Regions from separate parts of the Homo sapiens genome. Here regions 1 and 3 are each linked to region 2. Evidence: promoter capture Hi-C in human tissues and cell types (Jung and others, 2019). All regions are on one chromosome and are shown on one strand. Each heading gives the region's core, a stretch centred on a gene start or on the middle of the fragment in contact. The rest is flanking DNA. Distances are from core to core; before and after follow the strand shown.

Region 1 (4,213 bases), core at 147-2,646, 110 kb before region 2:
TTGGGGGTAGGGACCCTGTGGGTAGCCCCCTTGGGGGTAGGGGCTGGGGCCATGGGGGTACCCTGGCTGACCGTAGGGGGAGGGCTGGAAAGGGGGCTGTGGGTAAGGGGCCCCAGGGTAGGGAGGCTGAGCATAGGGGGGCATGGGTGGCTGGGGCCCCCCCGGATATCCAGGGTTGGGGGGAGGATAGTTGTCCCCAGACACCAAAAAACTCTTTTCATGGGACATGGCCTCGGGTTCCGCGGTCCGCCCCTAGAGAAGACAGACAAGGAACAGTGGAACAGTTGGCTTGACGACAGCGTCGGGACCCAGCCCTGCGCAACTCCACCTGCTTCTGGGAACCCAGGGGGAAGCAAGGGAAGACCGTGACCTTTGCCCCGGGCTGTGGGGAGCCCCGGAGCCTGGGCCCGGAGAAGCGCGTGAGGACCGGACGGGCGGCGCCGTGGGGCCTTCCCAGGGCTCTAGGCCGCCTTTAGGGTGGGGGAGGGGCCGGGCGAGGGGACGACCGCCAGCCTCGGGATTTGGGGCTTGGGTCGTTTCTCACAAGCAACCGGAGGCCTGCGCCGCTGCCGGCGTCTCCCGGGTGGGAGCTCAGCGCGGAGGCTGGGGTCTCGGCCGGGGACGTGTGGGGTGTGCCCGGACCCTCCCCTCCGCATCCCGCCCCTTAAGCAGCTTTAAGGGGCCGGAGCCGGCGGCTATTTCTATCCCAGGAAATCCCCGGGCCATCTGTGACCAACAAAGGCCCGAGCCCCCCCACCCCCGCGAGCCCAACAACAGGGCCCAACGGCCCCTGGCTCCGGGGTGGGGGGATCGGGCCTGGATCGGCTGCCGGTGCCTGCCAGTGGGGTACGCCGGGAACAGCGGGGTGCGGGGGTGTGTGGGGGATGGAAGCGACCACGGGGCGTGCGGGGAACAAAGCGGGCGTGGGGCGAGGCGGGTAGGGGCTGCGGCCGTGGCACTGGCACCGAGAGCGGATGGGCCCTCCGCGGGCCGGGGGCGCACAGGGTCACGGGTCCAGCAGTCGCCGCAGCGCGCCGCCCCCTCCCTCCGGCTCCAGGCCGCCGCGGCTCCCCGCCCCCACCACCGCCGCCACCTCTGGCCGCGAGCTGCCGCGCGCCCCGGCCGGACCAACTTACTGACCCGAGGCGGCCACGCTCGGATGCGCAAGATCCGCGTGGGGGCGGGGGCGGGGGCGGCAGGCCGCGCGGCGCAGCGGGTCAGAGGCGCTCCTGGGCTCGGGCCGGGGACTCACCGGTGGCCGGGCGCCGCAGGCCGGTACGCACGGTGTCCGCTGCGCGGCCGCGCGGTGATGGCCGATGCGCCCGCACCCGCACCCGCTCGGCGGCCGCTCAGCTGGGCCTGCGCCTGCGGCTCGGAAGACGCAGCGGGGCCTTGTGACGGGGCGGGGCAGGGGGCGGGGCCGGGCGAGCTTCGGGGTGGGAGGGGCAGGTGGGCGGGGCTTCCGCGGACCCCTCCCGCTGCGCCGCCTTGCGTGTTCCTCTTCGCTCCGGCCAGAGGCCCGCCTCTCACTGTCTGCCGAGGGGTGGGGTCGGGCGGTGGGCGCTGAAGACCCCTGGAGGCAGAAGTCTGGTCTGGCCAATTTGACTGGCCGTTCGGTAGTTAAGAAATTTATTCCTAAATGCGGGATTTGCTGAAGCTGCCCGGGACTGACCGTCCGTTCTCGGCCTTAAAACCCGACGTTCACTTCTTTTCATCCAGATCTCTCCCAAATCAAGAAGCCTAATCCTTTAGTTCCCAAATCGAGGCCTCGTGGTTTAATTGCCCCATTTGCTCTGTCAGCCCAAACTCTGCCAGGCCTGCTACTAGAGACCCTTTTTTATTTTTTTAATTCTTGTGGATACATAGTAGGTGTATATTTACGGGCTACATGGGATGTTTTGATACAGGCATGCCATGGATAATAATCACATCAAGGTAAATGGGGTATCCATCAGCTCAGGCATTTTGTCCTTCGTGTTACAAACAATCCAGTTATACTCTTGGAGTTGTTTTAAAATGTACAATTATTCTTGACCACAGTCACCCTTTGTACTAACAAATACGATGTCTTGTTTTCACACTAGAGACCCTGAACGCTCGCTTGTCTGCCTAACGTCCTCACAAGCTGCGAGGGGCTGAGGCTTGGGGATGCAGCAGGACTGGAGGCCAGGCCACCTCCCTGCTTAGCTCCCAAGTCCTCTTGGGGGAGCAGTGACTGACACAGGCAGGGTACATCCTGCTGCCAGCCTTCCCACCCGGGGCCCAGACCCCACCTGCCCTCCCGCCCTTGGAGGGCCGGCCTCTCCCAGGCCGCTCTGAGTCCTGCACCTATGGTGCGCTGGCGCAGTGTTTAGCAGCCGGACCTAGTGAGGGGAAGCCTGGGGTGCGTGTTTTGCACATGCGCGTGGTGTGAATACTCCACCGGGGCTGGTTTCAAGTTACCCCCAGCTGGACAACCAGTCCACAGAAATTCCCGAAACTGTACCAGTCTGCTTGTGGTGTGAGTGGTGCCTGTGGCAGGCCCTCTGCAGCCAGGGTCGGCGTAATGGATAACCTGTGATGAGTTCCATTAGAGAAAACGTGGAAAAAGCAGGGATGGATTTACCCTTGTAGAAGGTAACTTCTACCTTTGTAGAAGCAGAAGCTCACAAAATTTGAGAGACCTTTAAGAAAAATAAAATGCTTGCTGGGCGCGGTGGCTTACGCCTGTAATCCCAGCACTTTGGGAGGCCGAGGCGGGTGGATCACAAGGTCAGGAGATGGAGACCATCCTGGCTAACACGGTGAAACCCCGTCTCTACTAAAAATACAAAAAAAAATTAGCTGGGCGTGGTGGTGTGCACCTGTAATCCCAGCTATTGGGGGGGCTGAGGCAGGAGAATGGCTTGAACCTGGGAGGCAGAGGTTACAGTGAGCTGAGATCGTGCCACCGCACTCCAGCCTGCGTAACAGAGTGTGACTCTGTCTCAAAAAATAAATAAATAAGTAAATAAAAATAAAATAGCTGGGTATGGTGGCTGGCACCAGTAATCCCAGCACTTTGGGAGGCTGAGGCAGGTGGATCATCTGAGGTCAGGAGTTTGAGACCAGTCTGCCCAATAGGGTGAAACCCTGTCTCTGCTAAAAATACAAAAATTAGCTGGGCATGGTGGTGCGTGCCTGTAATCCCAGCTACTTGGGAGGCTTAGGCAGGAGAATCCCTTGAACCCAGTGGGTGGACGTTGCAGTGAGCCGAGATCACGGCACTTCACTCCAGCCTGGGTGAAAGGGCGAAACTCCGTCTCAGAAAAAAAAAAAAAAAAGGCAGAGTAAGGGAGATCATGCCAGAGGGGTGGCCATGGGGGTTTGTGGGGAAGGTAGGGCCAAGCAGAGGGAAGGGCCAGTCCCAGGCTACTGAGGCAGGAGTGGCCTGTAGCTCTGCAGGAAGAGCTGAGAGCCTGGAGCCCTCTGAGCATCAGGGTGTGCAGGGGGCATGGGGCCAGAGAAGGGACTGAGGTCTGGTCAGGTGCAGCTGGGCAGGGGGCAGGTCCTCAAAAGGACTTTGGGTTTTTGTTTTTTTTTTAGACAGAGTCTCACTCTATCACCTTGGTTGGAGTGCAGTGGCACGATCTCAGCTCACTGCAACCTCCACCTCCCAGGTTCAAGCTATTCTCCTGACTCAGCCTCCTGAGTAGCTGAGATTATAGGCACCTGCCACCATGCCCGGCTAATTTTTATATTTTTAGTAGAGACAGGGTTTTACCATGTTGGCCAGGCTGATCTCAAACTCCTGACCTCGTGATCCACCTGCCTCAGTCTCCCAAAGTGCTGGGATTACAGGCATGAGCCACTGCGCCCGGCCCCCAGGACTTTGGTTTCTACTGTTGCTGATGCTGGGAGCTGTAGCAGCTGCTGGTGTCATTTTACAAGGCTCACCCTGACACCTCTGTTGAGGACCCACCATGGGAGTGGCAGACAGAGACTAGTTAAGAGGTTAGCCTAGCTACCTAGCGAGAGATGCTGGAGGCTGGGACCAGGGTCGGGGCAGCAGAGGTGTGGCATGTGCAGGGCTAGGAGTGCAGGCTGGCCAGGGTCCTCAGCTCCCTGGAGGGAGGAACAGCAGGGGTGGGGCTGGGTTTTGGTGGGCTGAGGGGTGAGTGGGAAGTAGGAGATGGAGAGTGGTAGTGGCCACAGCTCTTTGAAAGGCTGGAAGCAAACGGAGCTTGGGTGATGT
Region 2 (4,154 bases), core at 888-3,387:
TTGGGGCTCTGGGACCTCCCTCCTTGGACCAGGTCTTCTGAGAGCCTCCCTGACCTGCAGGGGGAAGCTAGGTGCCAGTGCCAGGAGGAGGTGGGTAGAGCCGTGGGCAGTACTGGGCATGGGAGCCCTCTCGCTCACCTCCTGACACCCTCCCTGATGCCCTTCCTTGCTGTGTAGGTGGTATAGGCCCAGGCCTGGGGGCTGGAGGAGTGGCCTGTGGCTCCGGGGACTGCTGGGCTGAAGCACTGGACTGGAGCCCCTGGGGAGGTGGTGGCTCCCAGAAGCCCTGACTGGGAGTGGCCCAGGGACCTGGGGAGTAGGGCAGGCACCCAAGTCTGCCCCCAGAGGTGTCCCCAGAGGTCACTGGGCTGGGGGCCACCACAGGGCAGGGGATCTGGAGTCACAGGAAGACAAAGCCGAGGGAGAGGAGCCAGGGGACAGATGCCAGTGGGTGCAGCAGAGCAGGGCCAGCTCCATGCCACCTGCCTATACCAGGGGGGTGACGGGCAGAAATGGGTGCAGCGGAGCAGGGCCAGCTCCGTGCCACCTGCCTATACTGGAGGGGTGACGGGCAGAAATGGGTGCAGCGGAGCAGGGCCAGCTCTGTGCCACCTGCCTATACCGGAGGGGTGAGGAGCAGACAGGCATGTGGCCCGTCCCTGGGCACACAAGAAGGCTTGGTCTGGCCAGCCTAACACCCCCTTCTTGCAGCGAGGGGCTGGCATACACCCAGGTTTTGTGGCCTGGCAGGGGCGCTGCCTGCAATGGCTCACCGCAGGAAGAAGTGGCTCTGGGGTGTGCTCCAGGCCACAGGCCATAGCCAGCACCACCATGCCTCCCAGCAAGACCACACAGACAGTGTCCAGGCATCCGGTGAGCAGGGCTGGGGATGGATGCGGTTGGCCTGGCAGTGCCTTGGGGAAATGCGGGTTCCACCAGAGCTCCTCTGGGGTCAGGGCCCCGCAGTCGGCAGCAGCCATGCTGTGCGGCCAGTGTGGCAGGTGTGGACAGGGTCCAGGCAGCCTGGGTGAGCAGGTGTGAGTGTGGACCTGGTGGGTGGGTGAGAGCAGAGCCAGGGCAGTGGTCCCAAGCACCCTAACCCCTGAAGGCCTAACCTGTCCCTCCTGCACCTGCGTGGGCGCCTGCAATTACCCTCATGGTGTGCATTGGAGGTGGCTGGCTGGCTCTGGATGATTTTCTGGTCAAGAATGACTCAGGCAGAGGTGGGGGCTGGAGCTTGGGAGAAGGGGGCACTTGTGGGGGTGGGGAGCACCTGAGCCCTCAGGACCTCCAGGACTACGGGACAGAGGAGGAGGGGCCTTGGGGACAGAGGAGGAGGGGCTTTGGGCCCTGTACTTCCGTGGCCCTGCCCACCTGGGATATCGGGGCAGCCAAGGGGAGGGCCCTCCAGAAGATCCATGGAAGGTTCCCGTGCCAGGCTGAGGCTGCCCCCAGGCCAGCCCCCGAGGCTGTGAGCCTCCATGCCCAGTGTCTCTGGCATGCCCCAGCCTTGGAAGGTGGGTGCCAGGATGGGCTTCAGAGAGGGGACCAGGTACTCCCAGGGTGACAGGGAACATTCTCTGTGCCCAGGTGGAGGAGCCAGACCGGGGGGTGAGGCCTGGCACTGCTCCAGGCAGGACATCCCAGCTCTTACAACGTCATGGGGGCAGGGGGGCCTGCCAAGGAGAGCCTTGAAGACCCCTGGACCCAGCAGACACACGACGTGAAGCAGCGTCCCCAGGAAGCTGAGCAGACAAGGTGGGGTCGGGGCTGGAGGCAGGGACACCAGCCCGCACCGCATTAGTGGCTTGTGGGGATAGAAACCGCCGCTCTGGCCGGTCCGCGTTTCACTCCAAACTCCTTTCCCAAAAAAAAAAAGCTGTTCTGAAGGGCACAGGACGCCTCCGCGCCCGCCCTGCGTTCCTTCGCGGTGACTCCCTGCTGGGGACGAGGGGAGGGTCCCGGCTGCCCAGCCGCCGCCCCTTGCCCGGGGTGCAAGCGCCAGGCCCGGGCCGCGCGGGGTTTCCGGCACCTGCCCGCCCCGCCCCGCCCCGCGTCGGGGCCCCGACCTGGGCGCCGCCCTAGACGGGGGCGGGGCCTGTGGGGCTTGAAATGCGGGCGGAGCGGGCGCGCGGAGACACTGCGGACCGAGCGGCGAGCGGGCAGGTGCGGCGGGTGCGGCGGGTGCGGCGGGTGCGGCGGGTGCGGGCAGGTGCGGCGGGTGCGGGCAGGTGCGGCGGGTGCGGGTGCGGGCTCGGGGCCGGGCGGGGCGGCGGCCGCCGAAGGAAACCGGATCCCCGCTGGAGCCGCACGCCGAGGCCAGGGTAGGGGCGCGGCGGCCAGCGGGGTCTTGGGCTCTGGCCGGGCAGGTTTCCCGCCCTGGGCAATTTGAGCTCCGAGTCCGAAGTGGCGCCCCTGAGTCCCGGGCGCCGGTGAAGAGGAGGCGCCGGCCCCGAGCCCTCACGGGAGAGGCGGCCAGGGGCGGGGGTCTCGCAGGCCCAGCGGTTTTCCCTGCAGCGAGGACCGCCCGGGGCACGCTCTGCAGGGTGGGGAACGCCCAGGCCAGGAGGCAGCTAGGCCGACAAATTGAGAGGGGTGACTCCTGGCAACATTGCCGGGAGGGAGGCGTCACGGATCCGGGGAAGCTGCCTGCTGTTGGGTGAGCGGTCCCAGGGGTGGCCACTCCGGGTCAGGTAAGCGGTCACACGGTCGCCTGGAGACCCGTGGGAGGCAGAGGCAGGAAGGGCCCTGTTCATCACTTGGGCCCAGGGCTCTGCTTCCCTGCCCTGGGCCCCCGCTGCACTGTGCCAAGCTTGTTATTGGGGCCACTGATCTCTGATCATGGTGCAGGTTGCAGGTGGGTGGGGTCTTCCCACAAGGGCACACAGCCGGGCAGAAGCTAAGGCTGCTGCCTCCTGTGTGGGCCCAGGCAGCTGCCAGGGTCTGTCCTGACCTGACTCAGGCAGGCGGCTGCAGCCTCCCCAACCTTTGTCCCAGGCTGCGGTGGGGGCCTGCCGGGCAGTCTGGTGACAGACAGTGACCTCACCCAAGAGATGCAGACCCACCCTCCTCAGGAACGGCCCTCCACCACTTGGGGCCTGGGGGCCACCTGAAGTGGGGAATCCACAGGAGGGGCCCTTTGTGCCTCAGGCTCCGGGGAAATCTGCTCGGCCTCCTCCCCACCCCATCACCCTAACCCTGACCCCGTGCTCTCCTAGGCAGCAGCCACCTCCTCCAGATGCCCCCACACTCGAAGCTGCACCCCCTGCCCCCCCTCGCTCCGGACCCTCTGTCCAGCTGCCCTCCCAGGCCCCACATGGAGTCAAGACACCCACTCCCGGGCCTTCCTCCTGCCAAGCCTGGGAAGGGGCAGGGCCCAGGGAAGGGGCAGGGCCCAGAGGGGTTCATACCAGGCCCAAGGTCAGGAAGAGATAGGGAGTGGTGCAGCCAGCCACAGGCCGCATCTCACGCATGGTGCGGGGCATGCACTGGCAGGCACACTCACACACGCAGGGCAAGCCTGCCCCCGACTCCCTGCTCCCAAGCGCCCTGTCTCCAGCCTTCCTCCCTGGATCTCCTCTTTGTTTGGGGAACTTGAGCCACTTGCCTGAGCTTACGAGGCCCGCTTAGCACGCGGCCTGTCTGGGCTGGCGGCCTGTGCGCAGGTCAGGGGCCCGCCCAAGGTGCTGTCCCCACCCTCACTGGCCCTGCCCCGCCCTCGCTGGCCCTGCCCCACCCTGGCCCGCACTGCCCCTCCCCCTTGCTGGGAAATCAGGTGCTCCTCTCATTTCCTCACCGCCATCCCTGGCCGGATGTCAGGGGACAGGGCAGGGCCCTGACCCCCTAGAAGCCCCTCGTCTGGCCTGGATGCCATAGTGAGTGGCTGCCTTAGGCTCACAGATCCTGGAGGGTCCTGGAACGAGGCGTGCTGGAGAGGGCCCAGCCCTAGGGGAGGCAGGTGCCAGTAGAGGTGGACACAAAAGCGCCCAGGCTGGGTTCCCAGAAGCAGAGTCTGTCTGAGGCAGGGGTAACCGGGAGTGGTCTCAGGATGGCCTCAGGAAGGGAAGGGAGGAGGAAGCAGGTGGACGAAGGAGAAGCTGGCCTGTCCTGCCGTCTCATGTACCCCCCAGAAGCAGATCTGGACAGCCCCGTAG
Region 3 (4,079 bases), core at 670-3,169, 110 kb after region 2:
AGGTAGCTGGGATTACAAGTGCCCACCACCACGCCTGGCTAATTTTTGTATTTTTAGTAGAGATGGGGTTTCACCATGTTGGCCAGGCTGGTCTTGAACTCCTGACCTCAGGTGATCCACCCACCTCAGCCTCCCAAAGTGCTGAGATTACAGGCATGAGCCACCATGCCCAGCAAAAATCAGTTAGTTCTATTCACGAGAAGACACCATTGAAAGTAAAAATGCCAGTGAGTGGGAGAAGGTATTTGCAATCCATGTAACTGACAAAAGGTTTGTATTCCGAATATATTGGGAAATACTACAAAGCCGTAAGAAAAAAGGCAGCAGCACAATAGAGAACTAGTAACATACCTGAATGCACACAAGAGCCTACCCAGGTGGCCAATAAATATATGGAAATGTGATGAATCTCATTAGTCACCAGGGAAATCCAATCTAAAACCTCACCTAATACCACGCACACCGGCTAGAGAGAGGCTGCTACTACCCACGGGAGGCTTGCAGAACACCGGTCCCTACACTGCTGTGGGGAGGGAAATCAGAACACCCACGTCAGCAGACGGCTTGGCACACCTGTGCCTTAGCAACCTTTCTCCCAGGTGTGTGCCCCCAAAAATGCATGGATGTGTGCACCAGGAGACACGTGCAAGAAAATCCATGCTAGTGTTATTTTTAAAACCAAAATCTACAAATAATCCAAATGTCTACCAGCAGTAGAATGAATCAGTAATGTTATATGCACATAACAGACACCTAAACAGCCATGAACATGAACCACAGCTACATAAAACAAAGGATGACTTTTAAAATATGTACTTTATATACCACAAAGGAAAAGACGACTAAAGCATGTCAAAATGTAAAACTTCTGCTTATCTAAAAATAACATACCAAAAGTGAAAAACCATATAAATTTGGAAAAGAAATTTGCAACACATAAACCTGTTAAAGAACTTCTGCATATGTCAAAGAAACAGGTAAGTAATCCATAGAGCAATGGGCAGAGAGATGAACAGGCATTTCCCAGAAGAGGAAAATGGATTGGCTAATAAACCTTTGAAAACACATTCCATGAAATGCAAACTAAAATTACCATGGAGGCTCATTTTATATCCAGTAATTTTGCAAAATGTAAAGATAGACATTCTCAGATTGGGTGAGGATGAGAGGATTATATATAATCATAAATATATGATTTTTTTTTTTTGAGACAAGGTCTTACTCTGTCTCCCAGGCTGGAGTGCAGTGGTGTGATCCTGGCTCACTGCAACCTCGGCCTCCAGGGTTCAAGTGATTCTCCCACCTCAGCCTCCCAAGTAGCGGGGATTACAGGCGTGCGCCACCATGCCTGGCTAACTTCTGTATTTTTTGGTAGAGACGGGGTTTTACCACGTTGGCCAGGCTGGTCTTGAACTCCTGACCTCAAGGGATCTGCCCGCCTTGGCCTCCCAAAGTGCTGGGATTACAGACATGAGCCAACAAACCCGGCGCGGCTATATATATGATTCTTGAAATTTTTATTTTTTATTTTTTGAAAATTGTATTTTAAAAGTAAGGGAATGGTGAACACATTTGTAAGAGTGGATTCATCTGCAGGGAGGAGCAGAGTTAGGTGGGGATGCAATAGTGTTGGTGACATGTGAGCTCTTACATTCTATTGTCCTAAGGCACATATATATTACATATGTTCTTTTGTACACAATTTTTAAGAGATTTTTATGCATCCAGCAATTCCTTGAGGTTCACTAATTTTCATTTGTTAAATTTAACATTTTATTTTTAAAATGAAATGTATAAAATATCTCTGCTGTTATAACATTCTCTCTCTCCATCTCTTTCTGCCTCTTCATAATTATGGAAATTTACCCCTGTAAAAATGGAGAGAGAAATATTTGGATTATTTATCAAATGTTTGCACGTTTGTTATTTCTTTTTTCAGTTTTGTTTTGTTTGGTTTTTTTAGAAACAGGGTCTTGCTTTGTTACTGAGGCTGGAGTGCAGTGACGCCATCACGGCTCACTGCAGCCTTGACCTCCCCAGGCTCAGGTGATCCACCCACCTCAGTCTCCTGAGGAGCTGGGACTACAGGCACTAATTTTTTTTTTTTTTTTTGTAGCGACGGAGTCTCACCATGTTGCCCAGGCTGGTCTCAAACTCCTGAGCTCAAGTGATCCTCCCACCTCAACTTCCCAGAGTGCTGGGGTTTAAGGCAGGAGCCACTGCGCCTGGTCTGCACGTTTGTTATTTCTGAATACTGGGATACTGGAATATTGGATGATTTGTGATCTGCAGCTTTTTCCTTTGATTTGGGGGCGTTGCTTACAGGTTGTATGAGTCAGGTTTTGTTCGTTTTTTTTCTGCTACCAAGCAGCTGTCCACCTTTCCTGTGCAGGTGGAATCCTCTGCCGCCGAGTCCTTCCGGCGGGCCCTCCACACAATGTTTCCTGTCTCTGTTCTGTGACTGCTGAGAGTATCAGAGGAATGTAGAACTTTAAACAAGGCATGGTCCTTGAAGGAGAATCATCCTTCTATTCCCAGATCAGCTACATATTTTTAAATTCCCAAATCAAAACTTGAGGGACTTTTTGTGACTCCGTTGAAATGAATTATCATATCTCGTATAACAAAAAATTACCAGCTTAAGTCCCCAGTGTATTCATATGTTAAAAGAGGGTTAACCACTCTGCCTGCCCCTAGGGCTTGTGGATTTTGTTTCTGTTTGGAGGATCAATTGGCTAATGTGTTAGTCTGTTTTTGCATTGCCACAGAGGAACACCTGAGACTGGGTAATTTATAAAGAGAAGAGGTTTACTTGGCTCACGGTTCTGCAGGCTGCACAAGCATGGCACCTGCATCTGCTCTGCTTCTGGGGAGGCCTCAGGAAGCCTTTACTCATGGTAGAAGGTAAAGGAGAAGCAGGTGTGCCCCATGGCAAGTGGCAGAGCAAGATGGATGCCAGGCTGTGTAACCAACCAGCTCTCGTGCGAGCTTGTGAGCTCACGGAGTGGAACTAATGATGGTGAGGAGGGCACCAAACCATTCATGAGAGACCCGCCCCCATGATCCAAACACCTCCCACCAGGCCCCACTTTTGACATTGGGGATCACACTTCAATACGAGATTTGGAGGGGACCAAACCATATCAGCTAATAAATATAAAATACTTAGAGCAGGGTCTCACACACAATAAGCATTCAACAGATGTTAACTACCATTATCATATTCTTACCATCATTATAAGAAAAGCCAGGCCGGGCACGGTGGCTCACGCCTGTAATCCCAGCACTTTGGGAGGCCAAGGCGGGCAGATCATGAGGTCAGGACTTTGAGACCAGCCTGGCTGACATGGTGAAACCCCGTCTCTAATAAAAATACAAAAATTAGCCAGGCGTGGTGGCGGGCGCCTGTAATCCCAGCTACTCAGGGGGCTGAGGCAGGAGAATCTCCTGAACCAGGAGGCAGAGGTTGCAGTGAGCTGAGATCGCACCACTGCACTCCAGCCTGGGTGACAGAGCAAGACTCAGTTTTAAGAAAAGAAAAAGAAAAGGAAAAGAAAGGGAAAAGGAAAAGGAAAACAAAAGGAAAGGAAAGGAAAGAAAAGAAAAGAGAAAAGAAAAAAAAAGAAAAGAGGGAGGGTCATGAATTTCCTACCACAACAGCCTGTCAGAGAAAACACAGCATCACTAGGGGATTGCGTAGACTAATTGCACAGTCTGAGACTTCATTCTCCAGTTTTATTTCAATAGAAAATGATGGTTTTGGGGAATGCCTAGGTCATTGTCAGCTTAATCAGAAGGTGACTCCCCTTGCAGCTGCTGTTCCAAGTGTGTTCTCCTTAATGAAACAAATCAATACAATTTACCACCTGTTATGCAGTGACTGATCTGGTAAATATTTTTTCCTTCCTCAATCAACATTCACCAGAAGCAAGTTGCCCCTCCATGGAAGTGGCATCAGCGTATCTTCCCATCTTGTCATGTCCACAGGGAGCTTGGTGGTCTCAGCACCCCTGAGATGATCTTGACAGTGCAGTATGCTGATGAGGGCACAGGGATAGGACCTGGGAAGCTTTTGGAAG

The links. The method cuts DNA at HindIII sites, captures the fragments that hold promoters and counts their contacts. A contact is called where the count stands out against the background at its distance.
Region 1: the fragment with the promoter of GRINA here is called in contact with the fragment with the promoter of EPPK1 in region 2 in 3 of the 25 tissues and cell types used here (liver, mesendoderm cells and thymus).
Region 3: a fragment that was not itself captured here is called in contact with the fragment with the promoter of EPPK1 in region 2 in 4 of the 25 tissues and cell types used here (dorsolateral prefrontal cortex, mesenchymal stem cells, mesendoderm cells and 1 more).

Annotation. Positions count from the first base shown.
Region 1 is chr8:143,987,239-143,991,451 of GRCh38, reverse strand. It overlaps GRINA (glutamate ionotropic receptor NMDA type subunit associated protein 1), which reads right to left and starts at 1,396. Exons shown (of 7, transcript NM_001009184.2): 1 at 1,253-1,396; 2 at 1-252. The coding sequence starts at 228. It also overlaps a transcript of PARP10 not described here. RefSeq lists silencers at 315-364, 197-491, 415-674, 805-944, 965-1,464. The HindIII fragment of the contact is 16,067 bases long and covers 1-4,213 here.
Region 2 is chr8:143,876,450-143,880,603 of GRCh38, reverse strand. EPPK1 (epiplakin 1) reads left to right here and starts at 2,137. Exons shown (of 2, transcript NM_031308.4): 1 at 2,137-2,166. RefSeq lists an enhancer at 785-1,427 and a silencer at 1,994-2,083. The HindIII fragment of the contact is 27,880 bases long and covers 1-4,154 here.
Region 3 is chr8:143,762,485-143,766,563 of GRCh38, reverse strand. All of the region lies in intron 3 of IQANK1 (IQ motif and ankyrin repeat containing 1), which reads right to left. Among named protein-coding and RNA genes, the nearest start is that of IQANK1, 30 kb to the right of the region's middle. The HindIII fragment of the contact is 9,724 bases long and covers 1-4,079 here.